Linked DNA regions of Homo sapiens: region 2 is linked to region 1. Evidence: promoter capture Hi-C in 16 types of primary human blood cells and fetal thymus (Javierre and others, 2016). All regions are on one chromosome and are shown on one strand. The core of a region is centred on a gene start or on the middle of the fragment in contact, and the rest is flanking DNA. Distances in the headings are between cores, read along the strand shown.

The links. Contacts are between HindIII fragments. The CHiCAGO score rates a contact against its expected background, and 5 or more counts as called.
Region 2: a fragment that was not itself captured here is called in contact with the fragment with the promoter of PRSS27 in region 1 in 4 of 17 cell types (endothelial precursors, total CD8 T cells, naive B cells and 1 more); the score reaches 6.2 in endothelial precursors.

The regions. Positions count from the first base shown.
Region 1 is chr16:2,717,352-2,722,283 of GRCh38, reverse strand. It overlaps PRSS27 (serine protease 27), which reads left to right and starts at 2,060. Exons shown (of 6, transcript NM_031948.5): 1 at 2,060-2,169. The coding sequence starts at 2,124. RefSeq lists silencers at 530-599, 730-1,489 and an enhancer at 1,223-1,790. The HindIII fragment of the contact is 5,437 bases long and covers 1-3,257 here.
Region 2 is chr16:2,864,695-2,870,052 of GRCh38, reverse strand. It overlaps LOC101929566 (a long non-coding RNA gene), which reads left to right and starts at 1,849. Exons shown (of 3, transcript NR_188573.1): 1 at 1,849-1,961; 2 at 2,524-2,592; 3 at 3,197-3,705. RefSeq lists enhancers at 1,566-1,635, 1,646-1,825, 1,926-2,045. The HindIII fragment of the contact is 4,018 bases long and covers 2,100-5,358 here.

The DNA.
Region 1 (4,932 bases), core at 811-3,310:
TGGGGAGCAGACACCAAGGAACACACAGAAAGGTGCCAAGAGGAAATAGTTACCTGCGAGGCTCTAAGACTGCCTCTGAGATCCCATCAGTGACCTGACCATAGGGTGCTGGAGAAATGTGGTCACCCAGACACTTTGAAACACTTTCCGTGGTTGATAATTATTATTCTCCTTTTTTTTTTTTTTTTTTTGAGACAGGGTCTCACTGTCTCCCAGGCTGGAGTGCAGTGTTGCAATCTCGTGTCATTGCCATCTCCGCCTCCCGAGTTCAAGTGATTCTCCTGCCTCAGCCTCCTGAGTAGCTAGGATCACAGGTGCCCGCCACCAAGCCCGGCTAATTTTGTATTTTAGTAGAGACGGGGTTTCACCATGTTGGCCATGCTGGTCTCGAACTCCTGACCTCAGGTGATCTGCCTGCCTTGGCCTCCCAAAGTGCTGGGATTCCCGGTGTGAGCCACTGCACCCAGCCCGTCGCGGTTTATAATTAGAGATTTCTCTGCTAAATGATGTTCTCTCTCTCACACTGAGGTGAGGTCTGTTTGGGTCACCTTTGTATTCCCCAAACCGGGGACAGTATTGGGCTCAAATCTGCTCAGAAATGACTGACTGACTGAATGAATAAATCAATACATGAATGAATACGTTTGGAGTCCCCTCTTCCCACTCCTCGCCCTCCCTCCTTCCCTCCAGACCCCCAGGGGCTGCCCAGCCCGCCTCCCACCCCCGACCCGGGAACTCCAGGGACTGGACGGGGAGGGAAGGGTGGGAGGAGGCGGTGGAGGCGGAGGCGGAGACGCGGGAGGGCGGGGCTAGGGAGGGCGATGCGGGGAGCCGGAGCCCGGACCATGAGGCTGGGAGCGCCCCTTCTGCACCCCTGGCCGCCCGCGCCGCGCCCCGCGCCCACCAGAGGGCAGCACCACGACGCGCGCGGACAAGGCTGAGGCGGGAACGGCCGCACCCCCAGCCCCGCCCGGAGCCGCCCGGCCCCGCCCCGCCCGCGAGTACCGACCCCCGGCGCCGGCGGGGAAACAGGTCCGGCGCCCCCGACCCCACGGCCCGGCCCCACTCTGTCTCTGACGTCAGCGCCGTGCCCCAAATAACTTCCTCCCCGAGCCTCTTCCGCCGCGGCGCCGCGCCCAGAGCCAGGCGGGGACACCGAAACGGTAACCCCGGCCCGGCCTTCCCGGAGCCGCTTCCGCCCCGCCTGGTGCCAGGAAGCCCCCGCCCCTTCCAAGGGATGGCAGCCGGGGCCCGGGTCGGCCGCCTGGGCCGCGCTGGCGCGCGCCTGAGGAACTTCTGGGGCCTGCTGTCCCGGGAGGAGGGTCGCTGCGGCCAACTCCGGACCCCGCCCCATGTCCCATCGCCTCCCCTGCCCTCGGCCCCGCAAACACCCCTGGCCTTGACTTTCCCACCAGCGCGGCCCAGCCCCACTGTGTTCCATCGGCGCTCAATAAAATACTGAATGAGGCCGGGCGCGGTGGCTCACCCCTGTAATCCCAGCGCTTTGGGAGGCCGAGGAGGGCGGATCACGAGGTCAGGAGATCGAGACTAGCCTGGCCAACACGGTTAAACCCCGTCTCTACTAAAAATACAAAAAATTAGCCGGGCGTGGTGGCACCTGCCTGTAATCCCAGCTACTCAGGAGGCTGAGGCAGGAGAATGGCTTGAACCTGGGAGACGGAGCTTGCAGTGAGCCGAGATTGCGCTCCAGCCTGGGCGACAGAGCGAGACTCTGTCTCAAAAAATTAAAAAAAATAATAATAATAATAATGAATGAAGCTGGACGGACTTCGCGTGCACCGCGGTCAGCTCGGGGTCTGCTGGGGGGTCTGGGTCAGCTCAGGGTCCAGGAACCGAGGCCAACGGCACCCCGTGCTGCGCTGGGGTGAGGGGTCTGCCCTGGGGTCTCGGGGTTCAGGGCTAGGTCACGGAGGAGTCGGCTCTGGGCGCTTCCTTCCTGAGGAGAGGAGCTGGGCAGGCCGGGCCGACGGGTTGGGCCGCATAGCCGGGCCTGTGCTCATCTCCAGCATAAAACTCCACTTCATGGAGCCTGCACCTCGCTCGTGCTCCAACGCTTCTGCCACCGCCGACCACGGCCCTGCGCCCCAGCCAGGCCTGAGGACATGAGGCGGCCGGCGGCGGTGCCGCTCCTGCTGCTGCTGTGTTTTGGTGAGTCGTGAAGGTGCAGGGTCCTGGTGGTGCAGTCCCCCACCAGGCTCCGCTGCACTGCCTGGGGCTCCGGCTCAGCCCCCTACTCCCTGGGACAGGCTGGGGCTGTGGGACAGGCCATCATCCCTCCTGCCCCTGAGCAGGTGGGAAGGCTCCAGATGTGCCAAGTGGGGAGTCCAAAGTGGGGAGGCAGGGTGGGAGGTGTGCGCACAGGCCCCAGAGGACCCCACCGGCATAACTGGGCAGCACCTCCTCCCATGCCTCTCCGCGGGCACTGGTGTGCCAGCTCTGGCCAGGCTCCCTGCTTCCTGCCACCTCGGCCTCTCCCCCCATTCTCTAGGTGAGGACAGGGGCCTCCTACGTGCAGGATGTGAACTCAGGCTCCAAGTGCCTGGACCATCATACTCGGGGTGGGAGGGTGGCCGAGCCGAGGGCTGCTGCCTGTGCCCGGAAGCCCCAGCAGGCTGGCTGCAGGCTCAGTAGAGAGCTGGGGGCAGGGGGTGTAGGTGGCAGAGGGCCCTGTCTCCTGCTGACAGAGGAACCGGTGATGCGCCACCGTGCCCTCTCCCAGTCCTGGGTCAGGGACAGCAGGTGCCAGCCAGGGGGCCCCACCTGCCAGGCCCCTCCCTGCGGGCCGGGACACTCTCTGTCAGGGAAAACCTCTCACATTCCTGGGCTAGCCTAGCCAGTCTGGCAGCCACCACACTTCCCTGTCCTCAAGTCACCTCCCAGGGCTGGGTCAGGTCATCCCAGGCTGCAGCTTAGCCAGTACTCCAGGCTTCCTTGTTCTCCTGGGTGGGAGGGCACCAGTGGCCCCTCAGTGGCCCGGCCTCCCCCACCCCATGCCCCCAGTCTCCCAGCACAAGGATGGTGCCCTCTGAGCAAGCCATGTGCACAGGAGGTGGAAGGCTGTGACTGCCCCTGAGCGGGGTGAGGAACCAAGGTCATTGCCAAAACTCTTTGGCAATGAGTTTTGCAGTCGGTTCACTAACAGCTGTGACCAGAGGCTGGACTCCTGGACACGTCCTCACTCCCAGCCCGAGGGTGGCACTCCCACCAGGTCTCTGGCTGGTGGTACCCACTAAGCTTCACCATCCCCACCAGCTACCAGCGAATCACAGGCCCAGGCCCCAAACAATGCTCCTGACACCCCCGGCACCCCTGGCTGTTGCTTCCAGCCCCCACAGGGCGCCCACCCTGAAGGGCTCAGCTGTCCACATCCCCCATTTCCCATCAGCCCCCACAGCCACACTTGTGTCCATCCACACATTCCCTGAGATCAGGCCCCCCAGATGCAGCCCTTGCCTTCTCGGAGCTCCTGGGCTAAGATAAGACTTGATTCTGGCTCCAGGGTGATGTAGACAGAGCTCCCATCAGGACAGAGAGCTCAAGAGAGAGTATAGGGCTTCCAAGGTAGACAATGCAAGCAAGCAAGGAAGGCTTCCTGGAGGAGGCAGCATTCAGTTGGGCCTTGATCTCTAGATCACGATTAGGACTTGGCTGGGAGCGGTGGCTCACGCCTGTAATGCCAGCACTTTGGGAGGCCGAGGTGGGCGGATCACGGGGCCAGGAGATCGAGACTATCCTGGCAAACATGGTGAAACCCCTCTCTACTAAAAATACAAAAAAATTAGCCGGGCTTGGTGGCGGGCCCCTGTAGTCCCAGCTACTCGGGAGGCTGAGGCAGGAGAATGGCGTGAACCCAGGAGGCGGAGCTTGCAGTGAGCTGAGATCGCGCCACTGCACTCCAGGCTGGGCAACAGAGTGAGACTCCATCTTAAAAAAAAAAAAAAAAAAAAGACTAGGACTTATGGAGACTGGGGGAAGGGCATCCAGATTGTGGGGTGAGGGGAGCAAGCACTCAGAGACCAGAAGACTCTGCCTAAATGAGAAGTACAGGGCTACTTTAGGAAGGAAGGATCTGCATGGGGAGGAGGCATCGCTGAAGGGGCAGTGCTCAGGCAGGGAGCATGGAGACACAGCTCCTGCAGACTCCCAGAGAGCGAGAAGGCCTGACAGTGCGCGCCCTTCTGCAAGCAGGATCCTCAGGCTTGGAAGGAGCAAGGGGTCGGGGGGCCAGGGAATAACCCTCCCGGTAGTGTTTGCATTTTAAAGGGCACTTAATTAGCACAAATTAATGAGCAGAGCATCCAGGGCAGACTCTCCATTTCCCGTTGCCCCTGACCCCGCTTCTGCAGGGCACCCCTTTGCCTGCCCTGCACCTTCTCCACCTCCTCCTCCTGCCCATCCACAGCTGCCCCCTCGCCGCCCGCTGCCTTATCGTCCAGCAACCCCCGGGGTGTCTCTGCCCACCAGTGGTGTTGGGGAGGGTGCCCCCCAGACTGTGAGGCAGACAGAAAGGAAGAGGATGCCGTAAAAACCCTGGGGGTGCTTGGGCCCTCCATGGCCACTTCCTGTCCCCACAGCCCCTCAACTCCAGGGGACTGGTTATCTTTTCCGGGCAGAGTGAAGACATGGTCCATAGCAGCTGGCCCGGGCACCGGAAGGCACTGGGGGTTAAGGGGAAGCTGAGGGCCTAGGTGTGGGGAGGTGGCTGTTCTAACCCCTCCCCAGCTACGGGCGAATCTTGCCCCCACAGAATCAGACGCGTGGAGTGCAGGGGTGGTGAGAGGACTCTCTCAAGGCCAGGAAGTTCCAGGCTTTGCTACCCTGGGGCTGTACACTATGGTCCTGGCTGGGGTCTCCAAGCTGGGGTAGAGGCTCCAGTGTTTGGTTAAAGGCCCAGCAAGAGGCCCTTTGTGT
Region 2 (5,358 bases), core at 2,859-5,358, 150 kb before region 1:
GCAGAGTGAGTTGCTCTCCAGGACTTCAACCTGCCTTCTCCCCCAGTGTGTACATCACAGTCACAGTGATTGTCTGTTTACTATCTCCTGCCTCAGAAGACTGAGCTCCTGGAGCCAAGGATCGCGGCTTAAGCTCACCCCTGCAGCCCCATCTCTCTCTACACAGGCCTAACACACGGTCAGTGTGGAACAAAGTCTTGGTCTCCCTGCTGCTGGTTGTTCCTCTCCTCAACCTGTTCCACAAACAGATGGCTGATTCTCATCCTAAAGCAAAGTTGATTTTATCACCCCCAACTCAAAATCCTTCCCTGGCTGACTTTCGCTTTTGAAACGCTTTCAATTGTTAGCATTCAGGCCTTGCACGTGGTGCACCAAGGGCTGTTAGGATAATTGGAGAGAAAAGGTTGAGGTAAGAGTCCCGGTGAGGGTCAAGGTTAGGCAAACTGATAAGTAAATTGAGAGCCCAGCGAAGCACATAATTTCCTCTCTCCTGCTCTTCCTCAAACACTCATGGAGCACCATGTGTCAGTTTCTGCGCTGAATCTTAATAAAGCAGAAAATGATTATGTTCCTATGCTGACCCCAAAAAGACACGGACCTTGTTCTGTCTCTCCACGTTGGCTATTGTCTGACTCCAGTGGTATGCTGCTGAATGTTTAACAACTGACTTTCTGGGAAGAAAAAAAAAAAGCCCTGATTTCTACAGTTTACCAATTTCTATGGTGTAAATATTCCCACCATAGCCGATTTCAAGTCTCCAATATGATGTCATTGAACATAGAGTTGGAAAGAAACGTGCAATAGCACACTATTATATAGTATTCCCACCATACAGATAAGATGGATGTAAATCACTCCAAGAACACAGATAGTAGTAAAACAGCAAAACAATTAACCAGTGATACATTTTGAGTGTTTTCTTTCTTCATTTGTTTATTTATTATTTTTTGGACAGTAAGTCGTTCTGTCTCCCAGGCTGGAGTGCAGTGGCATGATCTCAGATCACTGCAACCTCCACCTCCAGGTTCAAGCGATTCTCCTGCCTCAGCCTCCCAAGTAGCTGGGATTACAGGTGCGCGCCACCACGCCCAGCTAATTTTTGTACTTTTAGTGGAGATGGGGTTTCACCATGTTGCCCAGGTTGGTCTTGAACTCCTGACCTCAGGTGATCCACCCGCCTCGGCCTCCCAAAGTGCTGGGATTGCAGGCGTGAGCCACCGCGCAGGCGTCTACCTTTGTTTTTAATATAATGTATTTAATTGTAGGCTCATAAAATTTATTTTTTAACAATGACGTCAAAAAATGTATTTAACATCCAGCTTGCAAAACGTCTGAAAACTTAACCATGCGCTCATGCGCACTGTCTTCAAATGCGGTTTTTGACGGTGCCCATTTTACTTCGTCATGTTTGGGGCTTTTAGTGGTCGGGACACGCAAAGCCAGGAAGAGAAACGAGGCCAACGGGAGGAGCAAAGCCGGGCTCCAGTCCCTCACGCGGCCACCGGGGGGCGACAGACACAGGCCAATGAGCAGCTGGGGATCTGAGGCCCCCGGGCTCGGCCGCTGGGTCTCTTCTCCGCCCACAAGGAGGACTGAGACGCTTTTCCTGATATTTTGGGCGTGGCCCGTCACCGGCACCGTGGCAGGGGTCTGGGGCGCTGAGGGGCCGCTCCCCACCCGGACTTAGGTCCCTGGTATTGAAAACCAGCGCTGTCCATCCGCAGTGCCCCAAGTGTCCCCGGACACCAAGCTGGCTCACTCTGGCGGCCGCCATAACCCCTGCCCGGCAGCCTCTGCGGCCGGAAGTTGGCTCGGCCGGTGTTCGGGGCATCCCTCGGGCAGTTAACCGCACTTCCGCTGGCTGGGTATCCGCGGCAAGTTCAGATCATTAGTTGGCTGGAGTTAATTAACCACCAGACAATTAGCTTATCTTTTTCCCGATCCTAAGACCAGCTGGATTGGTGAGGAGGAACTAGAGACAACAGCTTCCTTCTGAGTCACCTTGAGGCAGCAGCCACTGGGGAAATGCAGGGAAGGACACTACCCAGGCTTCCTGGAGGGGTTGGCCCCAGGGCATGCCCTGCTTGGGCGGAAAAGCTTGGAGTTTAGATGAGGAAGCCTGAATTCTCCTCTAGACCTCCTGCCAACTCTTTGCCTGACCTTGGGCAAAACATTTAACTCTCTTCTGGGCCTTGGTTTCTTTAGCAAACACTGACGCCTGCTTCTCCGGCTCGCCCCCGCGCCCCACTCCCCCCACCGCTTTTTAAATGTTTATTATTTTTTTAATCATGGTTTTATTAGGTTGGTGCAAAAGTAACTGCGGTTTTTATCATTACTTTCAATGGCATAATAGAATGGGACTCTATTTGCTGCCAGATTGGGAATTCTAAGGGTATAAATATGTATTAATAAATATTATGACCTTTAAAATTTTAAAACAAATGCAAAACCTGCAGCATTTTTCGGGAATTGATTCTCTGTACATAAAAATGAGATTAGTCAATCCTTTTGGTGTCTGTTTAGCATACAATGAGTACATCCAGATAGTTAAGACCCTTGGAATCAAGATTAAGAGAACCATCAATTAAGGAGGTATGGTTGGTTAATTCTATACTTATTTTGAAAATAAGTTAGTTGGCCGGGCGCGGTGGCTCACGCCTGTAATCCCAGCACTTTGGGAGGCCAAGGTGGGTGGATCATGAGGTCAGGAGATCGAGACCATCCTGGCTAACACAGTGAAACCCCGTCTTTACTAAAAATACAAAAAATTAGCCGGGCGTGGTGGCGGGCGCTGTAGTCCCAGCTACTCAGGAGGCTGAGGCAGGAGAATGGCGTGAACCTGGGAGGCGGAGCCTGCAGTGAGCGGAGATCGCGCCACTGCACTCCAACCTGGGCGACAGAGCGAGACACTGTCTCAGAAAAATAATAATAATAATAATAAGTATAGTTAATTCTATACTTACTTTGGAAAACACCAGCTATTCAGCACGAATAGCAAAGACACCATGACTACGTTCTACTACTGTGGGACTGTAGTAGAACACTGACGCCTGCTTCTCCGGTACCCCCCCCGCCCCCCCTCCCCCGCCTTTTTAATGTTTTATTATTATTATTTTTTGAGAGTCTCACTCTGACGCCCAGGCTGGAGTGCAGTGGGGCGATCTCAGCTCACTGCTTTCCCCTTTCTTGTTGGCAGGCAGTGCGCACCTCTCCAGGGAAATTTACTCCAGTGCTTCATCCTACCTCATTGGACACAGCCGACCGTGTTGGTCCTGGTTCCCTCTTCAAATGCTGGCTCCTGGAAATAGCATCAAAGCAAGCAGCTGATAAGACAAAACTGGGTTGTTGCTTATGCTAAGGGGAAGCACCACCTTGAAAGAGTCATTGTAGAGTGGAGGTCGGGAGGGCAAAGTTGAGATACTGAGGTTTTGGGGTTTGGTTTAAGGCAGGTCCTTTGATGTCGGACTTAATCAGGGCTGGGTAAGGATCATGTTATAATAGTTTAGGATTGTTGGTCACAGTTTTGTATTGGTGGTCACAGTGAAGTGAGGGCTTCAAAGACTCTTGGAGCTTTCTTTGATGCTCCCTGTTGAAGAGCTGTGTGGTTTTATTAATGGATTTTCCTGAACTCAAGGAGTAAGGTTATTTGCAACTTTTGTGTTTCTGGGCAAGCATTTCCTGGAATAATAAAGTCACAATAATAGAGTCATGTTATTTTGCTTCAGCAATTGTGAGTCGGAGTACTCTGCTATTTGTATCCAGAGGCACCCTGTTATGGTTTCCTTGTGTGTAAAATGGGGATTATACTGCAGAGAGAAGGGGAGGAGCTGGGCATGCTTTGAGAAGACCAAAGTTTCAACGTATTGTAGGCTTTTGGTATTACAGCAATGTAGGGCTTACAAAAATGTCTGAGTCCTGGAAAATTATCCTTACTCTGAAATAGGAAATGGAGTTGCCAAGTTGAATTACATAGTTGTTTGTTAAATGTCTCCTAGACATAATTATGTCCACTGGTCCAGTGCAACTCAGAGCACACGGTTGTGGGTCCATTGCATTTATTCTGCAGAGGGAGGTGCATGCTCATGTGTTCGAAGCCATGTGATGGGGGCTTCAAAGCTGAGAATGCTCCAGGCTTATCAAGGTCTTAAAATGGCCCTGTGACTGGCCTTTCTACTTCCTTTCTGCTTGAGTCCTGGCCTTTCTACTTCCTAGCCATGTGAATTGGGATCAACTCCTCCCTCTCTGAGCCAATTTCCTCATGTGTACAGTGGGGAAGACAATGCTTGGGGCAGAATAAGAAGGGTGAAGCGAGGTGGTGTGTTGAGTATAGTAGCAAACAGTTTTTGGAACTGAGGCCCAGATGATCCCGGGGTGGCTTCAGCCCTGCAAACTGTGGATCTGGTACAATGTACCCTGAGAGAGACCATGGACCTATAGATAGCAAGTCTGTAAAGGCTCACAGTTAATCAGGTTAGGAGAAAGCAAGAGAAATGAGGATCCCAGCCCAGGGAGCCTGGGACTTATTCAGGTCAGTTTCTGCACTGACCCACATATTTAACAACCAGCTCTTTACAGGCATGAGACAATCAGAACAGTCTTGCTGGAGATGCTGGAGGCCCTGTGTGAAAACAGGCATTCACTCTTTAAGTGTTAGATTTTGAGGATAGTGGAGGGCCTGGAGCAGCTGGGCAGTAAGGGGCACCTGGGGACTTGGGGAAATGGCTGTTTATCAACCTACAGTTGACATTCAGTTTGGCTCTACCAGAGCTGAAAATCTGCCTTGCTTAGGGGAGCATGGGAGTACCAGGTGTGGGAGCAAGTGGACGTTGGTAGTACAGCCCTGGGCAGGGCAGGCATGGATGGGGGCCAGATTCTGATCAGTGAAGCACCCCTGGGCACTCCCTTGAACCTCAAGCCTGAGGTCAACCAGTGGGGCCTTGGCTCCCTGGGGCTCCTGGATGTTTGAGCAATGCCCCCCTCAGAGAACTTTCCTAAGTTTTCAGTTTCTCCCCTCTTTTGTGCTTTGGAAAATCCTTCCTCCTTCCTGTGTCTAGGTGTCTAGGTGAGGTATTTCCTGTCTTCTCTGTCCTCAAGCCACTGTTCTCCTCTTTTACAGCAGACCTTGACACCAAATCATTAAAAACCAAAAAACTAGTTCTCTTTTCTTCAAGGGCAAGAAAGACTGAGTTTCCAAGTCCTACCAGGATATTTGCGGAAATTTTTGGATCCTATTTTTCTATGGTAAAGATAGGGAAGAAAAACAAATCACATACAAGTTTTATCTCTTTTATTTAGTTTTTTTAGACGGGGTCTCACTCTGTGGCCCAGGCTGGAGTGCAGTGGCACGATCATAGCTCA